4 separate regions of the Homo sapiens genome follow, and all the other regions are linked to region 2. The links are contacts of gene promoters, found by promoter capture Hi-C in blood cells and fetal thymus (Javierre and others, 2016). All regions are on one chromosome and are shown on one strand. Each heading gives the region's core, a stretch centred on a gene start or on the middle of the fragment in contact. The rest is flanking DNA. Distances are from core to core; before and after follow the strand shown.

Region 1 (2,899 bases), core at 68-2,567, 490 kb before region 2:
AAGAAAATTGTACCAGCTCAGCCCTGTGACCGAGGCATGCTGCCAAGTTTCATCTGTTTGTTTTAGCAAAGGTGTTTTGAAAGTTACATGGAAAAAGTAGTCAGACCATGAGGTCCTTGAGGAGCCCCGGGAAAGCACTGGTAAGTTGGAACAAATGTTACAGATTCCCTCCAAGGTTTCATTGAGGGTGTCTTGGAAGCTTTTGGGGTCATACTCCCCACCCCAGGGAGATTATATAATTGGGCAAAAAGTCATAATTGCCCACGCTCTGCCAGGATCCTGGTAGTTGAAGACACGGACTCAACTATCTCAACATAAGGTAGCCCAGAACCATGCAGAGATCACCCAGGCCAGCTTGGAGGCCCTGCTTCTGCCTTGGTCCAGGCCTGTGGTATAATAATAGCATTTCCTGGGCTTTTCTGGGGAGATTTTATCAACATTGGCAATGACCCGAGGGCAACAGATGGGAGGCTCTCTAAAAGCAACAAGTACTATCGTCCTTGCAGTGTGAACCCACAATGCATAACTCTGAGGCCACAACCACACACTACATGTAAGGGGAAAATTAAGTTCCAGAGAGCTCACTGATGATGGGACCACTCACCAGGAGAACAGCAAGGTCTCCTCTTGACTCGCAAAAGAGATGGCAGATGCCATCATTAAAGAGCTCACAGAGTCCTGTGAGTTCCCTGTGTCCTGCCAATAAATTCCCTTTTCCTTACATCAGCTGGTCAGTTTCTGTTGCTTGCACCCACTAAACCCTGGTGATTTATACCACGTGAAGAATTTCGCAGCCCAGTTACAAACACTGGGTCCTGTGTGCAGCCACAGTGAAGGCCTGCCCTCTGTCCAAAGCTAGAGGTAATCAGGGTGAATAAAGGCTTGTGTGTTGGAATGTGTGAAGGGGTTTGTCATGGGGTCAGGGGGCTATAAAAAGCATGATCTACTCCTAGCCCTTCCCTTTCTGTGTCGATGGTTTCCACCTTGTAATGGATGCATGCTGTCCGTCCAGCATCCTTCCTTTGGGAAAATGCATCTCCTCCGTTCCCTGTGGTTGAGGTAGCACTGAGTTGAAGGAAGGATAATTTTAACCCAGACTCCAAGGCCCTGAATTTTCCATCCACATCAGTACCTGCACTTTTAGATCATGATTTGGCTGTCTGAAGTCTCCATGTCAACAACTTGGAGTTTTCTCCTCCAGTAACTGATTGGAGCAAGCCGGGGCTCTGGGCATCAACACCATCTGCGGAAGCATCATAAGACCCACACTTTCCCTCCTCTCATGGTCCAGCCAGAGATCCTGCTTCTGATTGGCCCCCTCCCATTGGGCTGTGACGTCAGAGCCAGGGGCCCCCTTCTCACTGGCTTACTTACCCTTAAGACGGGGGCAAGTTGGCTGACTATTGGCCAAATTGCTTCATATTACTGCGAAAGAGTCGTTTAACAAGAGTAGAAATCAACAGAGTTCCACCGCCAGGGAGTTGAAACCCCTACAGCGTTATCTCGGATTCATGGTTCCTATGAGGCCAAAACACACTGAACTGACACATCCACATGAGGAGATCTTTGCTTCTCCTTTTCAAGGGAACTCAACTGAATTACACTGGGCAATTTTCAATACCCACGTGCCATATTGGTTTCCCAGGGTTTCTGTAACAAATGACCACAAACTGGGTGGGTTAAGACAACAGAAATGGATTCTCTCTCCGCGTTTTCTGGGGCCAGAAGTCCAAAAGCAAGGTGTCGGCAGGGCTGCGGTCCCTCTGAAGGCTCCAGGGGAGAATCTGTTCCTGGCCTCCTCCAGCTCCCAGTAGCTCCTGGCATTCCTTGGCTTGTGGCCGCCTCATACCCATCTGTGCCTCAGCCTTCACATGGCCTTCTTTTCTCTGTCTCACTGTGTGTCCTTTTTGGTCTTATAGAAGATCACCCTCATTGGATTTAGAGACCACCCAAATCCAGTATAATCTCATGTTGATCTTTACCTTATCTACATCTGCAGCGATCCTATTTCCAAATCAGGCCATATTCTGAGGTTGCAGATGGACATGCATTTTGCAGGGAAACTGTTCAGCCCACTACACAAGTGGGCACTGGCTTTACCTTATCCCAGCTTCAAAGCCAGGGTCATTGTGAACAGACTTCTAAGAAATGTTCTCTACCCTCCCACAGCACCTAGTAGGAGGCACCCCATGGGAGTCCAGGAGAGGCCTGTCTGGTGATTCAGTGGTTTCCATGCCCCTCAGCTAAGTAGCTGATTATGTACAACAAGGATCTGCAAACTCTAGCCCCTGGGCCAGCAGCCTGTTTTTATAAATAAAGTTTTATTGGAACATAGACTCATCCATTCATTTCCATATTGTTTATAGTTGCATTCATCCTACAAAGGCAGCACGTGTTGACCGGCTGGAGTGAGACTCTATGGACCACAAGCTTAAAATGCCTGCTGCATGACCCATTACAGAACAGTTCCCCAACCCCTGATGTGGAAGAATGAAAAATTCTCTCAACCCAGCAGGTGTGTCAGAATTTTTCTAGGGTAGATAATTGGGAATTAGGAAAATACCCCAATAAATATTCAAGGATGAAGAGGCCAGTACCCAAAGAAAGTGTCAGAAAGACAAGACACTTGAATTGATTAGGCTTAGCTAGATTTAACTGTTTTAGAAACAAAGCTGGCGGGGAAGAGCCAGGAGAGGGAGACAGGGGACGAAGCTGGGGCTCCAACTGGTAGAAATGGCAAATAAATTTTTGGCAGAACACTCTTTCTTTTGAAGTCACCCATGTTGCAGCAGAGCGACCCTCTGTTTTTGCCTAAATTTTCAGCCATCAACTGTAAACAGCAGCAAACACAGAGGCCTTGTGGGAGCCTGAATTGGAAATCAAGGGAAGGGTCTGGGTT
Region 2 (2,967 bases), core at 346-2,845:
CTCAGATGATCCGTCCGCCTCGGCCTCCCAAAGTGCTGGGATTACAGGCATGAGCCACTGGGCCCAGCTTTTTTTTTTTTTTTTTTTTTTTTTGAGACAGAGTCTCACTCTGTCACCTGGGCTGGAGTGCAGTGGCTCCATCTCGGCTCACTACCACCTCTGCCTCCAGGGTTCAAGTGATTCTCCTGCCTCAGCCTCCCGAGTAGCTGGGATTACAGGCGCCCGCCACTACGCCCAGCTAGGTTTTGTATTTTTAGTAGAGACAGGGTTTCACCATGTTGCCCAGCTGGTCTCGAACTCCTGACCTCGTGATTCACCCGCCTCAGCCTCCCAAAGTGCTAGGATTACAGGGGTGAGCCACCGCGCCTGGCCTAATTTCTGTATTTTTAGTAAAGACGAGGTTTCACCATGTTGGCCAGGCTGGTCTCAATCTCCTGACCTCAAGTGATCTGCCCGTCTCGGCCTCCCAAAGTTCTGGGATTACAGGCATGAGCCACTGTGCCCGGCCTACACCTTTATCTCCTTACAGAAGTTTCATATTTTGTTGGGATGATATCATTTCCATTTAGCTCAGGAATTTTCAGTAAGTCAAGCACTAGGAAAAATGTAAAAAGCAAGGGAACAGTGAATTTGGCCCTGTGAATAATATAATTTTGACCTTCTAAAACACACCATAAGTTCTTTATTTTGAGACAGAGTCTCAGTCGCCCATGCAGGAGTGCAGTAGTGTGATCTCAGCTCACCACAACCTCTGCCTCCAGGGTTCAAGCCATTCTTCTGCCTCAGCCTCCCGAGTAGCTGGGATTACAGACACACGCCGCCATGCCCAGCTAATTTTTGTATTTTTAGTAGAGATGGGGTTTCACCGTGTTGGCCAGGCTGTTCTCAAACTCCCGACCTCAGGCAATCCACCTGCCCTGGCCTCCCAAAGTGATGGGATTACAGCATGAACCACTGCGCCCGGCTGAGTTCTTGAATCTATCCTACATTTGAAAAAATCCATCTAACCAGAAGAACTTTGAGCCAAGAAACTAGAGGTCATCTTCCACTGTTTGTCCCAATATCTGTGGATGTGGGGACTATTGTCTTCACTAAGGATACATCAGGAAGTGAATTTGCCAGCTTTGCCCAGGACCATGAGGTCGGTTCATTATACCCAACGGTGCCGCCTAGACTCACTAGAACATCCGTTTCCCTGAGACTCCTGAGATTGAATCAATATGGTGTAAAAAAAATGGAGCCATCCTTACCTTATTCTTCTCACTGTCTCTTTGACACTGCAGTATCACAAACGGCACAACAGCAAACAAAAGCCAGAGCCATTTGCTCCCAAGCCAGCCTTGGGTGTGCTCTGGTAGGTTCTGCCGAATCCGAAAGTGCTCTCCACACGGCACCTTCCCCTGGGGTTCGCTAGTTTTCTGTCTCAGAGAAGAGAACATAAAGGCATAGCTGCAGGTGAGGCACAGAAGCAGGACCAGGGACGATTTCAGCGTCCACATGGTGAGCAGAGATGGGGAAGGGAGTTGCTCATGACGGGTTTGCTTGCCCTCGCAACTGGAAGACTGGGCACCTGGTGCCAGGCCCTTGGTGATGTCACAGAGGCCCTGAGCTGAGGCCACCCTGGCCATTGTGATGATTTCAGGACAGAGGTTACAGGTCACAGGAGTCGCCCGGGAGGAGGACTCAAAGGGAGATGGGGGCATTTCCAGCAGGCAGTCAGAGAGAGAGGATAGGCACGACGGGGTGCCAATTCCCTGCCAGGGGACTCTTTCCAACCCTCGAGCTTTTGCTGGTAGAGGCCGTCATGTTTCTGTTTTTCATTTGTTTGATCCAAACACTATGATGAGCAGAGGGAGATGCCATGTGCCCCGTGGAGCTGAGTTAAATGGGAGAGAAAGATATTAAACCACAGGCTACCTACAAACTCGGAGCCACCTATGTGTTTTGTTTGGCCTATGTTGTTTCTAAAAATTATTAGTCAGTACTTAAATGTTGTGGGGGGTGGGTATTTCACTTTAAAAGTCCAGGTTTCCGGCTTCCTTTGAAAATATGAGAGCGTGGCCGGGCGCGGCAGCTCACGCCTGTAATCCCAGCACTTTGGGAGGCTGAGGCGGGCAGATTACGAGGTCAAGAGATCGAGACCATCCTGTCCAACGTGGTGAAACCCCGTCTTTACTAAAAATACAAAAATTAGCTGGATGTGGTGGCACACGCCTGTAGTCTCAGCTACTTGGGAGGCTGAGACAGGAGAATCACTTGAACCCAGGAGGCAGAGGTTGTGATGAGCCGAGATCACGCCACTGCACTCCAGCCTGGCAACAGAGCAAGACTCTGTCTCAAAAAAAAAAAAAAAAAAAAAAGAAAAAGAAAAAGAAAGAAAAGAAAATATGAAGAGTTCTGGAAGCACTGGGCCCACACTGTCATAGAACCAGTCTTCTGCTAGAGCCAAGTGAAATCATCCATCCTGTGGCCATATTCCCTCCACAGTCCCCACCACTCCCTATTACCACATACCATCATTGACAGCAGCAGTGTGTGCCTGCCTTGGGTTAAGAGTATACTTTGGAGCCAGGCCTGGTGGCTCACACTTGTAATCCCAGCACTTTGGGAGGCCAAGGTAGGCAGATCACCCAAGGTCAGAAGTTTGAGACCAGCCTGGCCAACATGGTGAAACCCTATCTCTACTAAAAATACACAAATTAGCCAGGCATGGTGGCATGTGCCTGTAATCCCAGCTACTTGGGAGGCTGAGACGGGAGAATCACTTGAACCCAGGAAGTAGAGGTTACAGTGAGCTTAGATGGCGCCACTGCACTCCAGTCTGGGCAACAGAGCAGGGCTCAGTCTCAAAAAAAAAAAAAAAAAAGAAAAGAAAAGAAAAGAAAAGAAAAAAAGAGTATACATTGGGCCAGGCACAGGGGCAGGGGCTCACACCTGTAATCCCAGCACTTTGGGAGGCCAGGGTGG
Region 3 (2,741 bases), core at 229-2,728, 460 kb before region 2:
AATAATAGTAATAACAATAGTAATTATTTATTTATTGAACAGTTCTTGCCAAACACTGTGTTAAGTGCTTTGGCTACATCCTCCTGCTTACTCCTTGCAACAACACTATAATCAGGATACATTTATTCTCTTTCATAAATAAAGACGCCCTGGGAGGTGAAGCAATTTGCCCAAGCCACACAGGTAGAGGCCGGATAGCAGTCGGTTACAGGCCTCTTGGTCCCGAGTCCCTGATTGTCACACCACGCTGTACTCTCCTGCAGTAGGAGTTCTTGGTAATGGGGATATGGGAATTTTCCTTATTCTGTGTCCCTAATCTAGTCCAGACCCCTCCTCACTGAATCAAGGCACCCTGGGCTAATGGACCTTTGAGAGGAAGGGACACTTTCCCCATCGGAGACCAAGCTGAGACTCGGGAAACTAGAAATTGTCCCAAGCCAGGGAGCCAGCAACAGGGTTGTTTCGCCCTGAGTCCTGGCCCGGGGCTGTCGCAGCCTTGCTGAGCTGTTACCGGAGCCCCAGGCTTCCCATATGCAGCAACTTGACTCCTAAGGCTTTGCAAAGGCTGGGGTGATTCGGAGCCTGCTTCTCTGGCTTCACCCAGATCCTGGAGGCCAGACAGGCCTCAGGAGCCTTCCTCACACCCAGTCCCAGAGCCACCAGGCAGGGTTAGCCTCCTGGGGCGGTGGGTGGCGGGAGGCAAGCTGCTGGGCTGCAGTGCGGACAGATCCCGCCACCAGGTGGCACAGGTGAGGTGCTCTGACTTTTTTGTTGTTTTTCTTTTCTACCTTGATGAAAGCGCTGCCATTTGCTGAACCCCAGCGGCAGGGAACACGTGGGCTCAAGGTGAGGGTCTCAGGACCTGAGGAGATGGTATTATGTACTATTTGAAGCTATTTTTTTGTGATTCTAAAATGTACCATTTTCCCCCCTCTGCCGAGCTAGTGGCGACCCCACAGCCCCACACCCCCAGTGCCTGGTTTGCAATAGATGCTCCAAACAATGTCTAATCACTGAATAAATGAACAAACTCGTGAACGTGTCCAAAGGGCTGTCTCTTCCTTTCCGGAACCACTCACCCTTGGGTGCTGCCGCACCTCCAGCAGGCCAAACCCTGGGGGCGGATTAAGGAGCAGATGCTTGCTCCACAGCTGGCCCATCTCCAGGTGTTGCAGAGGGGCCCAGACTGAGAGCGGCGCCTGTGAAGGGTGGAGGAGATGGGAGTGAAAGGGCAGGCCGGGGAGCAGACGTCTTGACTCTATCTCTGCCTCTCCCAGGAGGCCACAGCCATGGGTGCTGAGTTACCCAGAATGGCTTTCTGAGAATTTAGAGGAGCCCCTCTACTGTGACTACCTCCAACCCCCTGGAGGAGGCCAGAGCCAGCTCCCATAGAGTTGATTTATCTTCCTATAGCTTCAGAAAGTAGAATGCTGTCAATGTCACCAATCAGCCACCCAGCTGTTCTTTGACCTTAGATGCTTCCTCTTGTCGGAGATGCTTTCTGGGGTCTCCAGCTAGCTGATCACCTCCTTTCTCTGAGACCTCCCCACTAACCAGAAGAGGGGTCCCCCAAGCAACCTGTTTCTGCCTGTGGCTAAGAATCACTGAGCATTTACTGCATCGCAGGTGCTGGTATTATCTGTCTCCTCCTCTAGAATGTGAGCTTTGCAAGGCGTTTTTCTCACGGTTGTAGTCCTAGCACCTAGAACTGTTCCTGCACATATTAAGTGTTTCGTAAATATTTTTTAAAGATAGAATGAATGCCTCCTTATGCATAATCTGATTAAACCTTCCCAGTGACTCTGTGAGGTAGGTGCAAGCATTATCCTCACTTTGCAGATGGGGAAACTGAGGCCCAAGGTCACACAGCTGGAAAAAGGTAAAGCTGGGATTTGAACTCAGGCCTGTTGGACTTCACCTTCCACATTCTTCCCAGCATGCCTCACTCCCTCTCCCCAGCAGCAACTCCTGCCAACCTAGGAGGCGGTGGATTGAGATTTTGCAATGAGAAGTCCAAGGACTTTTTCTGTCCTTGCAGGGCAGTTTAAAAGACAAGAGACCAGACTAGCCAAACCTCTTCTTTCAGGAAAAGCTCCTTCCAGCTTTCAAAGACTTCCCAAGAGCCTCCCTCAGGGCCCTGGGTGGAGGGATCCTGTTGGCGAGGGAACCCTGGGTGGGTGGAAGACAGCTGGGAAGTTTATGGAGTATTCACACTACACTAGAGCAGCTTAGAAGCGGGTCTTCCTCCCCGAGTCTGGGCAGCCCTTGCTGCTGATGTTTGCCCAGCATCCGTGACGTGGCTGCTCTTCCTTACTTGGACACAGACCAAGAGAGAGGGCACCAGGCTTCTGGCTCCACAGGAGGTGGAGAGGGCAGAAGACCGCCTGTCACTTTAGGAAGGCTGGCTGCCAGGGAGGTCAGAGAGGGGCAGGGGCACATGTTGGTTCTGGGGTCACAGACCAGGGTGAGGTTCCAAGAACCGCATTGACTGGTATTTTCTAAATAACTCGTTTTGTTCCATGAGTGTTATGTGTTGAGAGCAGAACATGGGATGGGGCTCTGGAGTCAGCAGTCCTCAGTTCAAGTCCTGGCTCTGCTACTGACAAGAGAGGTGGCCTAGGGCAAGTTAGCTTCTCTGAGTCTCAATTTCCTAACCTGTCAATAGGCCTGACAATGGTCTGTCTCATGGGGTTATGAAGAGGAGTGAGACAAGCCACGTGCAGTGCCTGGTGCACAGTGAA
Region 4 (3,003 bases), core at 276-2,775, 430 kb before region 2:
AAAGTAGGGATAGGGTGGGAGTGATCTTGGCAAAGAGGAACTTCATGTGCAAAGGCCTGGGGGAAGCAATGAACTGGGCAAGTTCAAGGGGTGAAAGGATCTGCATAACCCTGGGCAAGTTCTCCTCCCTCTGGACCTTACTTAGTGCATATGTCCAGCTAGGTCATCAGGATGTCTAGCCTCATATCCCAAGCTTCTCTGATTCCATTTTTGCCACTTACACTGGATCAAGAACCTGGAACACTATGCCTGGTTTTGTGGTTCTGCAGGGCAGGGGTCTTAGGGCCCACTCAGGAGTCACAGTCTGTATGTCTCTGCTCCTCCACCCTGGGAGGGGGCCGCTCTCCTTACTGTAATCATTCAGCCCTGGCACAGTTGTATTACATCATGTGTTACTGGTCCATCTCTCCATCTTCTCTCCCATTGGACTGGGATCCCCTTGATAACAGGGATATTGATTTGCTCTCTTTCATATCCCTAGCACCTCTCATGGTACCTAAAACATTGTAGGCATTTAGCATAAATTTGCTGAGTGGATAAATGGATGATTGATGCGTGAATGAATTAAAATGTATAAAAGCTGGTGCTCAATGCTTTAAGGGACTTGAAGAGCTTATCTGGGCCCACACTACATCTTTGGTTATCACCCCATTTTTCAGATGACACAGCTGAGGGTAAGGGAGCTTATGAAATGCTCCCACACCCTGCAGTGACAGGGTAGCAGTGAAGGTGAAGAGGAACATTCAGGATCCTTCTTGACCTCTCGTAATGGGCTACATTTCCTTCATGTTGACCTCATAGAAGATGTAGAATCTGCTCTTCCATGTCATTTGAAGAGGATCTCTCCCTCCTCGCAAGGCTGGGAGACATGAAGTAGAGGCAAAGAAGCAGATAGAACAGGCTCATCACAAGTTGATCAACCTGGCCATATGTATGGTTACTTATTACTGGGCAATAAATTATCCAGAACTTAGTGTCCTAAAACAGCAATAAACATGTATATTCTTCCAGTTTCTATGAGTTAGAAATACAGGAGCCCTTTTGCTGACCAGTTCTGACTCAGGGTCTCTCATGAGGTTGTAGTCACGAAGTTGACCAAAGCCACAGTCATCTGAAGGCTTGACTGGGGCTGGAGGATCCACTTCCAAGGTGATGTCCAAGGTGACTGACAATTTGGTGCTGCTGGTTGGTGAGGAGCTTCACTTCCTCCCCATGTGGGCCCCTCTACAGGCTGCTTAAGTGTCCTTACAACATGGCAGCTGGCTTTTCCCACAATGGGCAATCCAAGAAGGAGAGAGCCAGCAGAAGCTGTATTGCCTTGCATGAGTCAGTCTTGCAAGTCACAGATGATTATTTCACCATCCAGCCTGTCCCACATTGAAGGGGAGGGAATCCATTTTCACCTTCTGAAGGGAGAATGTTAAAGAAATTAAGAACATATTGAAACATGCTAAACTGCTTCCCAAGACCAGCCACTGGCTTGTCCATCCCTAGCCTAATGATGGTCAACTGGTTTGCCAGAGCACGCTGGTAGACCAGAAACTCGTGCCACCTGATGATGATCAATCTGTGGCACACACATTAGCCACATACTGTGTCAACAGTGTCTTTTACCTAATGCTTGTGAAGTGGGCACCTGAGGTTGAACAGCCTCTGGGGTGACAGCCCTTCCTAGGTTGGGAGCAGAAGAGAGTCCAGAGGGTCTTAGGGCCTAACTTCCCTCTTTCATCTCCAATACATGGAGACACCCCTCCTTTCCTTTTCCCAGCCACAACCTTCCAGGCTAAGAGACTGCTTTGCAGAGGAGACTTCCCTATCCTTATCTGCCTTTTGGAGGAGACAGAGCCAAACTTGGCACGTTATCTAGACACTCCACATTTCCCAGACTGCCCCGGTAGTGCCACTCATCTCAGAGCCGTGGAGAACATTCATTGCTCTGTGGACCTTAAAATCAGGCACAGTGTCAAGCTGGACCTGTCAGTCTACTCAGGGTATGAATTGACGCAACGTCTATGGAGGACAATTAGGCAATAGATTTCCTAATGAAAAAGACACACATCCTTTGGCCCAGCAATTCCACCTTGAATAACTTATTATCCCGCAAACATACTCCCACTTGTGAGACATAATGTGTGTACAAAGATAGGCATTGCAGCATTGTTTTTGGTAGAAAGAGACTGAAAACAATCTAATTGTCCATCACTGGGGGCTGGCTAAATAGATCGTGACACATCCATTCAACAGAATATTCCGTGGCTGTTAAAAAGAGAATGAAGCTCTTCTTTAAATACTAAAATGGAGCTACCTTCAAGATACATTGTTAAGTGAAATAAGCAAGATGAAAAACAGTGTGTATAATTTGCTGTAATTTATATAAAAAAGAAAACAGAAAGATTCTGTCTAAGTGTGTATTTATACACACAGAGTATCTGAGAAAATGAGAAACTGGGAGTAACAGACTGAATCATATGAAACTGTCATTTTTTTTTTTGGACAGGTTCCTACTCTGTCACCTAGACTGGAGTGAAGTGGTACAATTATGGCTCACTGCAGCCTTGACTGCCCAGGCTCAAGTGATCCTCCCATCTCAGCCTCCTGAGTAGCTGAGACTAATGGTGTACCACCATATCTGGCTAATTTTTGTGCTTTTGTGGAGATGAGGTCTCCCTATGTTGCCCAGGCTGGTCTCAAACTCCTGGGCTCAAGCCATCCTGGGATGATAGGTGTGAGCCACTGCATCCAGTGAAACTGCCATTTTTGTTGGTGGAAAACAAGTAAATATTGAAATGTCATGTGGGTTACCCCAATAGTAACAGTGGTTGCCTCTGGGTGTACAGGAGCAGGGAGGGAAGCTTACTTCCCTCATTATAACTTTTTCTTTGCCTTTGAAATGTTGCACCCATATGCATGATTTAGCTATTTCTATAATTTCATCTCATTTAGTTTTTTTTAAAAAAATAGATGTTCAGAGTGTTATCCATTTGAATAACCATTGCAAAGATT

The links. The method cuts DNA at HindIII sites, captures the fragments that hold promoters and counts their contacts. A CHiCAGO score of 5 or more calls a contact.
Region 1: a fragment that was not itself captured here is called in contact with the fragment with the promoter of FAM209B in region 2 in 1 of 17 cell types (M0 macrophages); the score reaches 5.4 in M0 macrophages.
Region 3: a contact is called between a fragment that was not itself captured here and the fragment with the promoter of FAM209B in region 2, in 2 of 17 cell types (fetal thymus and M1 macrophages). The highest score is 5.8, in fetal thymus.
Region 4: a fragment that was not itself captured here is called in contact with the fragment with the promoter of FAM209B in region 2 in 1 of 17 cell types (erythroblasts); the score reaches 5.2 in erythroblasts.

The regions. Positions count from the first base shown.
Region 1 is chr20:57,022,617-57,025,515 of GRCh38, reverse strand. No RefSeq gene overlaps it. Among named protein-coding and RNA genes, the nearest start is that of BMP7-AS1, 190 kb to the left of the region's middle. The HindIII fragment of the contact is 2,231 bases long and covers 202-2,432 here.
Region 2 is chr20:56,531,874-56,534,840 of GRCh38, reverse strand. FAM209B (family with sequence similarity 209 member B) reads right to left here and starts at 1,595. Exons shown (of 2, transcript NM_001013646.4): 1 at 1,251-1,595. The coding sequence starts at 1,499. It also overlaps a transcript of FAM209A not described here. The HindIII fragment of the contact is 5,101 bases long and covers 1-2,967 here.
Region 3 is chr20:56,993,776-56,996,516 of GRCh38, reverse strand. No RefSeq gene overlaps it. Among named protein-coding and RNA genes, the nearest start is that of BMP7-AS1, 220 kb to the left of the region's middle. RefSeq lists an enhancer at 543-1,071. The HindIII fragment of the contact is 3,092 bases long and covers 1-2,741 here.
Region 4 is chr20:56,961,043-56,964,045 of GRCh38, reverse strand. No RefSeq gene overlaps it. Among named protein-coding and RNA genes, the nearest start is that of BMP7-AS1, 250 kb to the left of the region's middle. The HindIII fragment of the contact is 2,659 bases long and covers 196-2,854 here.